2 separate regions of the Homo sapiens genome follow, and region 2 is linked to region 1. Evidence: promoter capture Hi-C in human tissues and cell types (Jung and others, 2019). All regions are on one chromosome and are shown on one strand. Each heading gives the region's core, a stretch centred on a gene start or on the middle of the fragment in contact. The rest is flanking DNA. Distances are from core to core; before and after follow the strand shown.

Region 1 (5,372 bases), core at 155-2,654:
AGCAAGCCTCGACACATTCATAACATATCTAACATATCAATACCAAAAGTAAAATTCTAGACACTTTTGGATCTTCCTCCCAAGTATGGTATTAGTCTAAAGAATGACAGTTGAGGTAAGTTGGCAGGGATTCCTGTTAGAACTCTAAAACTCACTTATGAAGCAATGAGCCAGTCAGTTCCCCTTCAGGGCTTGTTTCCTAATGGATGAAACTAAGGAATTGAATTAGATGCTCTGTAAATATCCCTACAGCTGTAGCATTCTGGGTGCAAAATTTTCCCGAGATGCAAACCACTACCACCACCACCACAACAAATCCAGTTGTTGAGGGATGATCCCCTTCCCAGTAAAAGCTGATATTTAACATCATTAATGGTTTTTTTTTTTTTTTTTTTTTTTTTGAGACAGATTCTTGCTCTGTCGCCCAGGCTGGAGTGCAATGGCGCGATCTTGGCTCACTGCAACCTCCGCCTCCCAGGTTCAAGTGGTTCTCCTGCTTCAGCCTCCCGAGTAGCTAGGACTACAGGTGCGCAACCACGCCCAGCTACTTTTTTGTGTTTTTAGTAGAGACAGGGTTTCACCATGTTGGCCAGGCTGGTCTCGAACTCCTGACCTCAGATGATTTCCCGCCTCGGTCCCCCAAAGTCCTGAGATTACAGGCGTGAGCCACCGCCCCCAGCCAATCATTAATATTTTTAAACATCAGTATGATATCTTAGTCTTGCTGCCTTCCAAGAAAGTGATGCTATGATCAAGCAAAAAATAGGCATACTTGATGCATGGCAAATATAAAATGTCATGTAAATGCTCAAAAATTTTACTGTGGGCCAGGCGCGGTGGCTCACGCCTGTAATCCCAGCACTTTGGGAGGCCGAGGTGGGCGGATCACCTCAGGTCGGGAGTTCGAGCCCAGCCTGGCCAACATGGTGAAACCCCATCTCTACTAAAAATACAAAAATTAGCCGGGCGTGGTGGCAGGCGCCTGTAATCCCAGCTACTCAGGAGGCTGAGGCACAAGAATCGCTTGAACCTGGGAGGCAGAGGTTGCAGTGAGCTGAGATCCCGCTACCGCACTTCAGCCTGGGCGATAAAGCGAGACTCCGTCTCAAAAAAAAATTGTACTGTGATAACAACTATATTTGCCATGAATGCCTACAGGATTTGGAGATTCCTGCCTTGAAAGAGTGTTTAAGTTGGCACCCAAATCGCGATACCTGCCCTGGGAGAGAAAGGAAGAGAACAGCAGAGAACAAGTACCTGATTGTTTCTCACTACTTCCCCGCTGCGCAGACGCCAGAGAGAGAGAGAGACAGTCAGAGCCTCTCCTCAGGTGAAAGGCAGGGGGATAACGAGGGAGAAACCTCCGGAACGCCACCGGCTCTCAAACGAGTAGCTGGAGAAGGGCGGTCGCTGACCGGTTGGAAACAACGTCGTCGCCATGGAAACTGTGGCGGCCCCAGCTGGAGGGGCTGGGTGAAGGTTGCCTGGAGAGGCAGTTGCCAAGCTGCAAGGGGTTAGGATTACCTGTCACAACAATAATTCGTTACTCAAGTAAATGGGGTGTGAGGTTTTGTTTGTTTGTTTTAACCTAACTGCCTTTCCTGGGAAGGGGACCAGGAAATTAGAATCTTCAAACTGTGGAAAACTGCAAGACTGGAAATTTAGATCTGTTGGAAAACAGATTTATGGAAACACTCTCAGCAAGAGAATCAAGTCTTCAAATGTCCCCTAGTGACACCCTGTAAATATTGTAACTAATCAGCAATATAATTTATCTTGCTTCTAGATTTGCTATTTGTTGACACAGCACTTCCAGGAATTCTTTGGCAAAATCAAACAGGTTAAGGTGTGTGAATTTAGTGGTATGCTGGGAGAAAGATGTGAAATTTTGCTGTTTGAAGCTGCACAATGCATACTACATCTAAATGATAATAGCCTACGAGAATACTATGTGCCAAAATTAAATTAGGGAAGTGAATACTGCCGGTGTGTTAACAGCATATTCATTCAACAAATATTTGAGCACCTTCTATGTGCCAGTTGCTACGTAATTTTTTTTTTTTTTTTTAATGAGAGTACAGCCTACACTATTGTGTCTGGCACAGAGTAGGTGCTCTAAAATGTCATTTAAGCGAGTGAATGAACAAGTAAAACTTCCTGGTAGTTTGTAAAAGCAAATTATCTTTCTGTAGAAAATAAAATACTTGTATAAATAATGTGACTTTTTTTTTTTTTTTTGAGACAGAGTTTTGATCTTGTTGCCCAGGCTGGAGTGCTCACCACAACCTCCACCTCCCAGGTTCAAGTGATTGTCTTGCCTCAGCCTTCCAAGTAGTTGGGATTACAGGCATGCATCACCAAACCCGACTAATTTTTTTTCTTTTCTTTTTTTTTTTTTTAGTAGAGACGGGGTTTCTCCATGTTGGTCAGGCTGGTCTTGAACTCCTGACCTCAGGTCATCCGCCCACCTCGGCCTCCCAAAATGCTGGGATTACAGGCGTGAACCACTGCACCATGCCACCTTTTCTCTTTTAAACTCAGTCCTATGACAGATTAGACAGTTTTTTTAATGTCAATTTGTTAGGGTTTATTTTTTAGAGACAGGGCTCTCGCTCTGTCACCCAGGCTGGAGTGCAGCGGCACCATCATAGTGAAAGGAGTCAGCTAGATTTTGCATTAGGTAGATAGCAAGGGAAGGGTCCCCAGAGAACCCCCAGCCCATGGGTCAGTGCCTCATCCCCACATAACATAAAAAGCAGCCTGGGAAAAAATTCAAGCGGCAGGCACCAATAAGGGAACTAGCACAGGGTGTTGTGCCTGGAGACATGCCCACGGCTCCACAGATAGAAAAATCTCCAGCCCATTTGGACAAAAACTTGCACAGACCTCCTCCTCACTCACATAAAGGAACAAAGAAATGCCTTTGTCCTTTGTATAGTCAATGGGCTCCCAGGGAAAAAAAAGTTTATTTTCCTTTTGTGGGTATGGGCACAGTGGGCTCCAGTAGGTTCCAGTGGGCACTCTACTTTCCTTTATTTGGATTGTAAGTCCGGCTTCTAGGAATCATCACTTCAGCTCCTGATTTGTCCTGGGCCAAGGTCCAGGGCCAAACTTTCTCTTCAGTTCCTGATAGGTCCCGAGCCAAGCTAAGCAGCATCTATGAATCATCATTTCAGCTCCTGATTAGTACCAGGCCAAGCCCCAGGGTAGCGGGGTCGGGGGACGAAGCACATTCCTTCCCCTTCCCAGTCCATAAAAACCCTGGACCCCAGCCTCATAGGGGGCACCCCATTCAGGTCCCCCTCTCTGCTGGCAGAGAGCTTTCTTCTTTCTCTTATTAAACGTTCGTTCTAAACTAACCTTTGGGTCTGCGCTCCTTAATCATCTTGGAGGTGGGACAAATAACTCCAGGTGTTATCTCAGACAATGAGAAACTGTTACATCTTGGTGCATTGCTGAGACTACAGCAATAGCTCACTGCATCCTCAAACTCCTGGGCTCAAGGGATCCTCCCACCTTAGCCTCCTGAGTAGCTGGGACTACAGGCACACACCACGACATCGGCTAATTTTTAAAAATATTTTGTTGGGACAGTGTCTTACTATGTTGCACAGGCTTGCCTCAAACTAGTGGACTCAAGCAATCCTCCTGCTTCAGCTTCCTAAAAGTGTTGGGATTATAGGCATGAGCCACCATATCTAGCCTGAATGTCAATTTGGTTAGGCTAAATTAGAAGAACTAAAGAGAAGGCAGCAATCTTGTGTATGATATACCCACCTTCTCCCAGTCATTAATCAAACACTAATCTAGGGCTGCTGTGAGGAGATTACAGCTCAATTCAAGTCCCTGGTCAATTGACATTGATCTAAGAAGATTATCCTGGGTGAGCCTGACTCAATCAGTAGAAATCCTTTTAAAAAGATTTAGGCCTGGCAAAGTGGATCAACCCTGTAATCCCAGCACCTTAGGAGGCCGAGCCAGACAGACTTCTTGAGGGAGTTTGAGACCAGCCTGGGCAACATGGTGTAACTCTGTCTCTATTTTAAAAAATTAAAAATTAAAAAAATAATAATAAAGAGATGGGCATGCCCTGAGTCAAACTCCAAACAGCAGCTGGGTCTATAACTGCTCTCCATTTTCTGGTTCTTCCCTTCCTGACAGATAGTCTGCCCTACAGACCATGGACTTGGTTAACCAGCCCCCTCCATTGCATAAGCCAATTCTTTGTTTAAAAAAATATATATATATGTATAGACATACACACACACATATATAGATATAGATATAGATATAGATATAGATGATATGTATTATATCTTAGTGGTTCTGCTTCCCACTTTGAACCCTGACTGATACAATGTACGTCCTTTTTTTTTTTACTTTAAAAAAAAATTTTATTATAGAGACAAAGTCTCACAATGTTGGCCAGGATGGTCTTGAACTCCTGGCCTCAAGCAATCCTCCTGCCTTGGCCTCTAGATGTGCTAGGATTACAGGTGTGAGCCACCACGCCTGGCCGATGTACATCCTTTTTAATAGCCAATGTTTCCAAAAGTGTGTTCTTTTACAAGAACAGATTCCTCTTGAGCTTATACAAATAAATAATATTGCCATAAAACAAGAATACTCATGAATAGTTTCCTAATTCTGGAGATATCAGGTAGAGAGAAAGATAAATATTTCAATTTTACTCACAAAATATACCAAAAAGTTACCAAATTGCTATAAAACTACAGATAATGCAGAGAAAAAAAGTTTTCTTAACTCTGAAAGAAAATAATAATAAAAAGCAACGTTTCAAGCAAAAAAGTCATTAAAATCATTTCAGTCCTCATCAGTTCCGTCCCATGTAATTAATTTTTGTTCTACTTGATAAATTAGCAATTTTAAGTCCAGTTTTTACCATTGGAGTTTCTCAAGTTCTTATTCAGTCCAACTTAATAATCAACAGAGGCCTGTATTCCAGAGTATGTATCAGACTTTTTATCCTTCTCATAAACCTCTTTGAAGACACAATGCTTTAGGATTATATTTGCTTGCAAAGATCATTTAGAAAAAACATTAGAATAAAGCAATTTACTACGAACAACAAGATTTAGAATGGCTATGGTGAAAGACCTGGTAAGAGTTTACAACAATGATGCGATTGACAAGGAAATTTGTTTTTTTCTGTAGTCTATAACAAGTTTACATAGTAGCCATAATTATGACTGATAACATACAAAAAGACACATCAGACTTTTAGGAATCTCATATACTTTTAAAACACATATTAATAACATGTTCATATAAATGTAATGCAAAGGTTTCCTGTATAATTTACATATCAAATAAGCCTAATACGTCTCTCTTAGGCTTCCAGGGGCCATTCT
Region 2 (5,372 bases), core at 1,759-4,258, 220 kb after region 1:
TAAGGGATAGATTGTAGTTAGGGTCAGTCAGGGAAAGGAGTTTTGGGTGGGAGGAAGAAGCAGGGATGATACGGCATGTTCCAAGGACATTGTAAGGAAGACATTGTGAAGAGCCTGCTGAATTTGACAACCAAGATTGTTTCTTCTTTTTTCCTCCACACATCTAAACATGACCACAAAGATCCTAGCCTCAGCTTTTGGGAGAATGGCAGGTCATACATTCTTTTACTTTTTATTTGTTTGTATGTTTGTTTTAACAGATACTTAAGTTTTTTGTTGACAGAAGTATAAAGATCATTAAGGGGTGCTGGTGTTTGTGAGAAAGTCTTTTACTTGACAAGTTGTATTTAAGACACATAATGTGAACATGTATAGGAAGCCAGATTATATCTTTAAAGCACATGTTCATTTCCCTCTATATTATTTTTCATAATAGTGGGAAATTGATAAAATATTTTATCTGTGATTTCAAATTGTTAAAAATATCGACAGTGTATATACTTAAAGCATTTTTTTTCCCACTTAGTTCTTTGACATTACTCCTTAGGTTAAATTCACTCTTTGCCCTTTTAGGCTTCTGTCTGATTTTCTTTCTTTTTTTTTTTTTTTTGAGACGGAGTCTTGCTCTGTTGCCCAGGCTGGAATACAGTGGCGCGATCTCGGCTCATTGTAAGCTCCGCCTCCCGGGTTCACGCCATTCTCCTGTCTCAGCCTCCTGAGTAGCTGGGACTACAGGCGCCTACCACCACACCCGGCTAATTTTTTTTTTTTTTTTTTTTTTTTGTATTTTTAGTAGAGACAGGGTTTCACCGTGTTAGCCAGGATGGTCTCGATTTCCTGACCTCGTGATCCGCCTGCCTCAGCCTCCCAAAGTGCTGGGATTACAGGCGTGAGCCACCACACCCAGTCTACCTGTCTGGTTTTCTTAAGTGATATTTCTGCTAGAGCTTAGTATTTATTCTTTTTGGTAAGTAGGGAAGAGAATGTCATTTAGAGTTTTAAGTGAAAAGATTGTGAAGTTAACTCTTAATATATGTCAGTTACTTCATAGTTACTTGAATCAAGAAAAATGGTGGCATTTATTAGCGGCTGAAACGTTCTAAGTTTACAGTCCAGACTCTTTCCTCTTCTCAGGTACATGCTTCTCTTACTGACACTATATAGGTAGATAAATAGTTACACCTTTGCTTAAAAATCTTTGACGTTGCCTCATTAATTTTTAGCATTAAAATCTATATCTTATTTTCTTTTTTTCTAGCTCTCTCTTTTATTACTGTTTTTTCTTCACCCCAAACTTTGTGTACTAGCTGTATGACAGTGTTCACTGTTTCTAGAACAAGTGCCTTTTTTTGCTGTTTTGTCTTCTAGAATGACCTCTTCTTGTCATCCCTTAAGGCTCAGTTCCAATGTGAAACCTTCCCTGACTCCCTTTAACTGAAGAATTAATTGCTTCTTCCTCTATACTTCCATTTAACTTTGTGTATAATTTCTTTATTTCTTTTTTTTAAATTTATTTTTATTTTTATTTTTGAGACAGGGTCCCTCTCTGTCACCCAGGCTAGAGTGTAGTGGTGTGATCTTGGCTTACTGCAGCCTCCACCTCATGGGTTCAAGCAGTTCTCCTGCCTCAGCCTCTCAAGTAGCTGGGATGACAGGCACCCCCCAGCACACCTGGCTAATTTTTGTATTTTTAGTAGAGATGGGATTTCACCATGTTGCCCAGGCTGATCTCGAACTCCTGGCCTCAAGCAATCCACCTGCCTCAGCCTCCCAAAGTGCTGGGATTACAGGTGTGAGCCACTGCACCCGGCCTGTATATAATTTCATTATGGGACATAAACAACAAAATAACTATGATGCAAATGTACTACTGTCCCATCAGATGTGAACTCTTGAGAGCAAGAGAATAGGCACTACATTCATGTTTGAATGAGGGAAATGTGAACAATGGAGCGGTTTGTATTTCTGCAAACCTGTGCAGTGTTAAAGGGCAGAAAGTCATTCAAGTTAGTTCTCAATTTGAGATCATGGACTCAATTATCAATATGTAGTCTTTGTATAAGTCATTATTTATTGAGAGCTTGCAGTTTGCAAAACATTTTGCTAAGTGTTTTTGGATCGTAGATCCAAATCTTGTGATTGGTGATATGAAATTATATATATGAACTATTACAATTTCACACAAAATAATTTTAAAAGGTTTTAGAATAATCAGAGTGCTTTCTTGTTTCATTTGGTCTATATAACACTCTTAGAAGGTAAGTAAAACAGCTGCAGTCTGGCTCGCTTTTGTCCAAAAAGAGTTTGATGTTTAGAGGTTATTTGTACAAGATCATCTAGTGGTAACTATGGGAGTTTTTTTCCCCCCAAAATGAAAGCCAACTATTAGACATTTATTCTGAACTGTCTTCTTAGGGACTGAGCAATTATTATGAAAATCTGTCTTTTGCTCTCTTGAAAGGTAATCTAAGCTATTGCTTTTTGATGTATAACCGAAACTTGTCATATTACGGACTTTCAAAGACTGAAATAACTCAAGTTAATTATTTCTCTGAGTCAGCTAACATTTTTAAAAACTTACCTCTACTACTCCTAGAAATACAATATTTTTTCTTGGGCTTGCATTCAGGCAAACTGATTTGGCTTTGGGTATATATGAAAATGAATGAAACAGCCTTGGAAAAACTTGTTTGGCCATGTACATTTTTCATGCTTTATAAGAGAGTAGCTGACAAATGTAAAGAAAAGAAGGAAAGCTTATATAGGCACTTGAAAATATGGACGTGTTTGGTGGTTAGTACTGTATCTTTTGTCAAGTATACAATTTGGGTTGGATTTTAAATTTAAGCACATAGAAACTGTGTGTTAAGATTTTCTCAATATTTTCAGGCTTACAGTTTTATTTATATATAAGTACTGACTTATTCTAGCTGAGCCAAGCAGAAAGGATTTTCCAATATAGACTTTCAAGCTTTTCTTATTTTTTACTTATACAAATAACAGGAATACATTCTCATAAAAAGTCAAGCAGGCCAGGTGTGGTGGCTCACACCTGTAATCCTAGCACTTTGGGAGGCTGAGGCAGGAAGATTGCTTGAGGCCAGGATTTCAAGTTCAGCCTGGGCAACTGTTTATATGAAATGTGTAGAATAGGTAAATTCATAGAAACAAAGATTGGTGGTTTCTAGGGGCTGAGGGTAATTAGGAATGTGATGGTTAATTTTATGTCAGTGTGGCTAGGCTGTGGTATCAGTTTTTCACTTGACCAACTTTTGGTCAAACACCAACCTGATATTCCTGTGAAAGTATTTCTTAGATGTGACTAACATTTATACCATTATACTTTGAGTAAAGCATATTACCCTCCATAATGTGGGTGGGCCTCTCTAATCAGTCGAAGGCCTTAAAAAAAAAGACTGAGGTCCCCCTGAAGTTAGGAATTTTGCCCTCACAAAGCTGTTGGACTCAAGACTACACAACAGCTCTTCCCTGAATCCCTAGTCTAATGATATGCCCCGCCAATTTCATACTTGCCAGCACCCCCCACCCCAGTTGCGTGAGCCAATTCCATTAGATAAATCTCTCTATATAAATGTACATGCAATCGGTTCTGTTTTTCTAGAGCCTTGACTAACATAGGATATGACTGCCAAATTGGTACGAGTTTCTTTTTGGGATGATGAAAATGTAAAATTGATTGTGGCGATGGTTGCACAACTCTGAATTGTATACTTAAATTGGCAATTGTATGGTGTTTGAATTATATCTCCAAAAAGGATTTTCATTTTATTTTATTTTTTTTTTGAGATGGAGTCTTGCTCTGTTGCCCAGGCTGGAGTGCAGTGGCGCGATCTTGGCTCACTGCAAGCTCTGCCTCCTGGGTTCACGCCATTCTCCTGCCTCAGCCTCCTGAGTAGCTGGGACTACAGGGCGCCTGTCACCACGCCCAGCCAGTTTCTTGTATTTTTAGTAGAGATGGGGTTTCACCGTGTTAGCCAGGATGGTCTCGATCTCCTGACCTCGTGATCCGCCCGCCTTGGCCTCCCAAAGTGCTGGGATTACAGGCATGAGCCACCGCGCCCGGCTGGATTTTTTTTTTTAAGACACAAGGTCTCACTATGTTGCCCGGCTGGTCTCAAATTCCTGGGCTCAAGCAACCCTCCCACCTCAGGCTCCCAAAGTGTTAGGATTACAGGGTGAGCTACCGCACCTAGGCCCAAAAAGGAATGTTAGATGAAGTAATAGCTTAGTGAAAGCAGCTTGGGATATAGGAAGTAGAAGACAGTGAGTGAGTATTCAAGGTAGGTAGGATTAACAGAGCAACTTTTGAAGTACCATATAGTTTGATTTTTCTCTCTGCTTCCTTATTGTGAATGTCTTACTCTTGGTTGGACCTTTGTTTTAACAAATGTAGTATATAGATAGTACGTTTCCAATCTTGAAATATTTGTTTCTAGGCACAATTTTGGTGTTATTGAGAAGTTGTAGTGCCAGAGTATTAATGTGAGAATTGAGAGAAATGGTTAAGATATAGTTTAAAAGTCTCGATCTGCACCTCAATCAGTTCAGCATAAGATTGATTTTACTTACCAAGGAATCTTTGATGTATGCAGGCACATACATAGAAGCAGTAAAGTATTGTTAGGATGAACTGTACTAGTTTGATTAGAAGACAGTATTCATTTAAATTGTAGCTGAACCCAAACTGGGGCCATTATGCATTCTTAGTCTTTAGTATCTGAGTGTCTCATTCTTGCAGTGCGGTGTGGTGTCCAGCACATAATCCTGGAAAAATATAATTACGATACAAATAAGTCAAACAATAGTAGCATCTGTGAATCATTGTTTCCAGGGAGCTAAGAGAGTGATGTATTCCTTCCCCCAGGATTGGGGGCAGAAAATGTGGGAGCAAAGAAGAGAGCTTCACAGAGAAAGTTGTTTTTAAGCCACTGTTTGAAGAGTGAGTAGGGCTTTGCTAGCTGGATAAAAAAGAGCAATGCATTCTAGCTGGAAGCATATGTTTAAGGCAGAAAAGCCTGAAAGAGAGTGATGTATTCTGGGAATGCAAACCCAGAAGTTGACAAAATTGGGGGGAAGAAAATAGAGCTGCTGTCAGTTCTTTGGGGGTAGTCGAGAACTGAAGGCAGATGCCTTAAGGGAGGCAGTGTAGTCAAAGATTTTGGAGTTGGACTACTGGTATTGGAATCCTGGCTCCATTGCTTGCCAGATATGTGACCTTGGGGAGTCTCTGTGTTTTCAGTTTTCCTCATATGTAAAAGGAGGCTAATAATCGTATTTACTTCATGGGACTTTTGTAAACATTTGATGAGAATTGTAAAGCACTTAGCAGAATACCTGGCACAGGATAGGCA

Evidence for each region. Contacts are between HindIII fragments. The study calls those that stand out against the background at their distance.
Region 2: a contact is called between a fragment that was not itself captured here and the fragment with the promoter of DNAH12 in region 1, in 1 of the 25 tissues and cell types used here (dorsolateral prefrontal cortex).

The regions. Positions count from the first base shown.
Region 1 is chr3:57,542,940-57,548,311 of GRCh38, forward strand. DNAH12 (dynein axonemal heavy chain 12) reads right to left here and starts at 1,405. Exons shown (of 74, transcript NM_001366028.2): 1 at 1,258-1,405. RefSeq lists an enhancer at 993-1,543. The HindIII fragment of the contact is 14,626 bases long and covers 1-5,372 here.
Region 2 is chr3:57,765,407-57,770,778 of GRCh38, forward strand. The region is part of intron 2 of SLMAP (sarcolemma associated protein); the gene reads left to right. Among named protein-coding and RNA genes, the nearest start is that of SLMAP, 12 kb to the left of the region's middle. The HindIII fragment of the contact is 4,536 bases long and covers 741-5,276 here.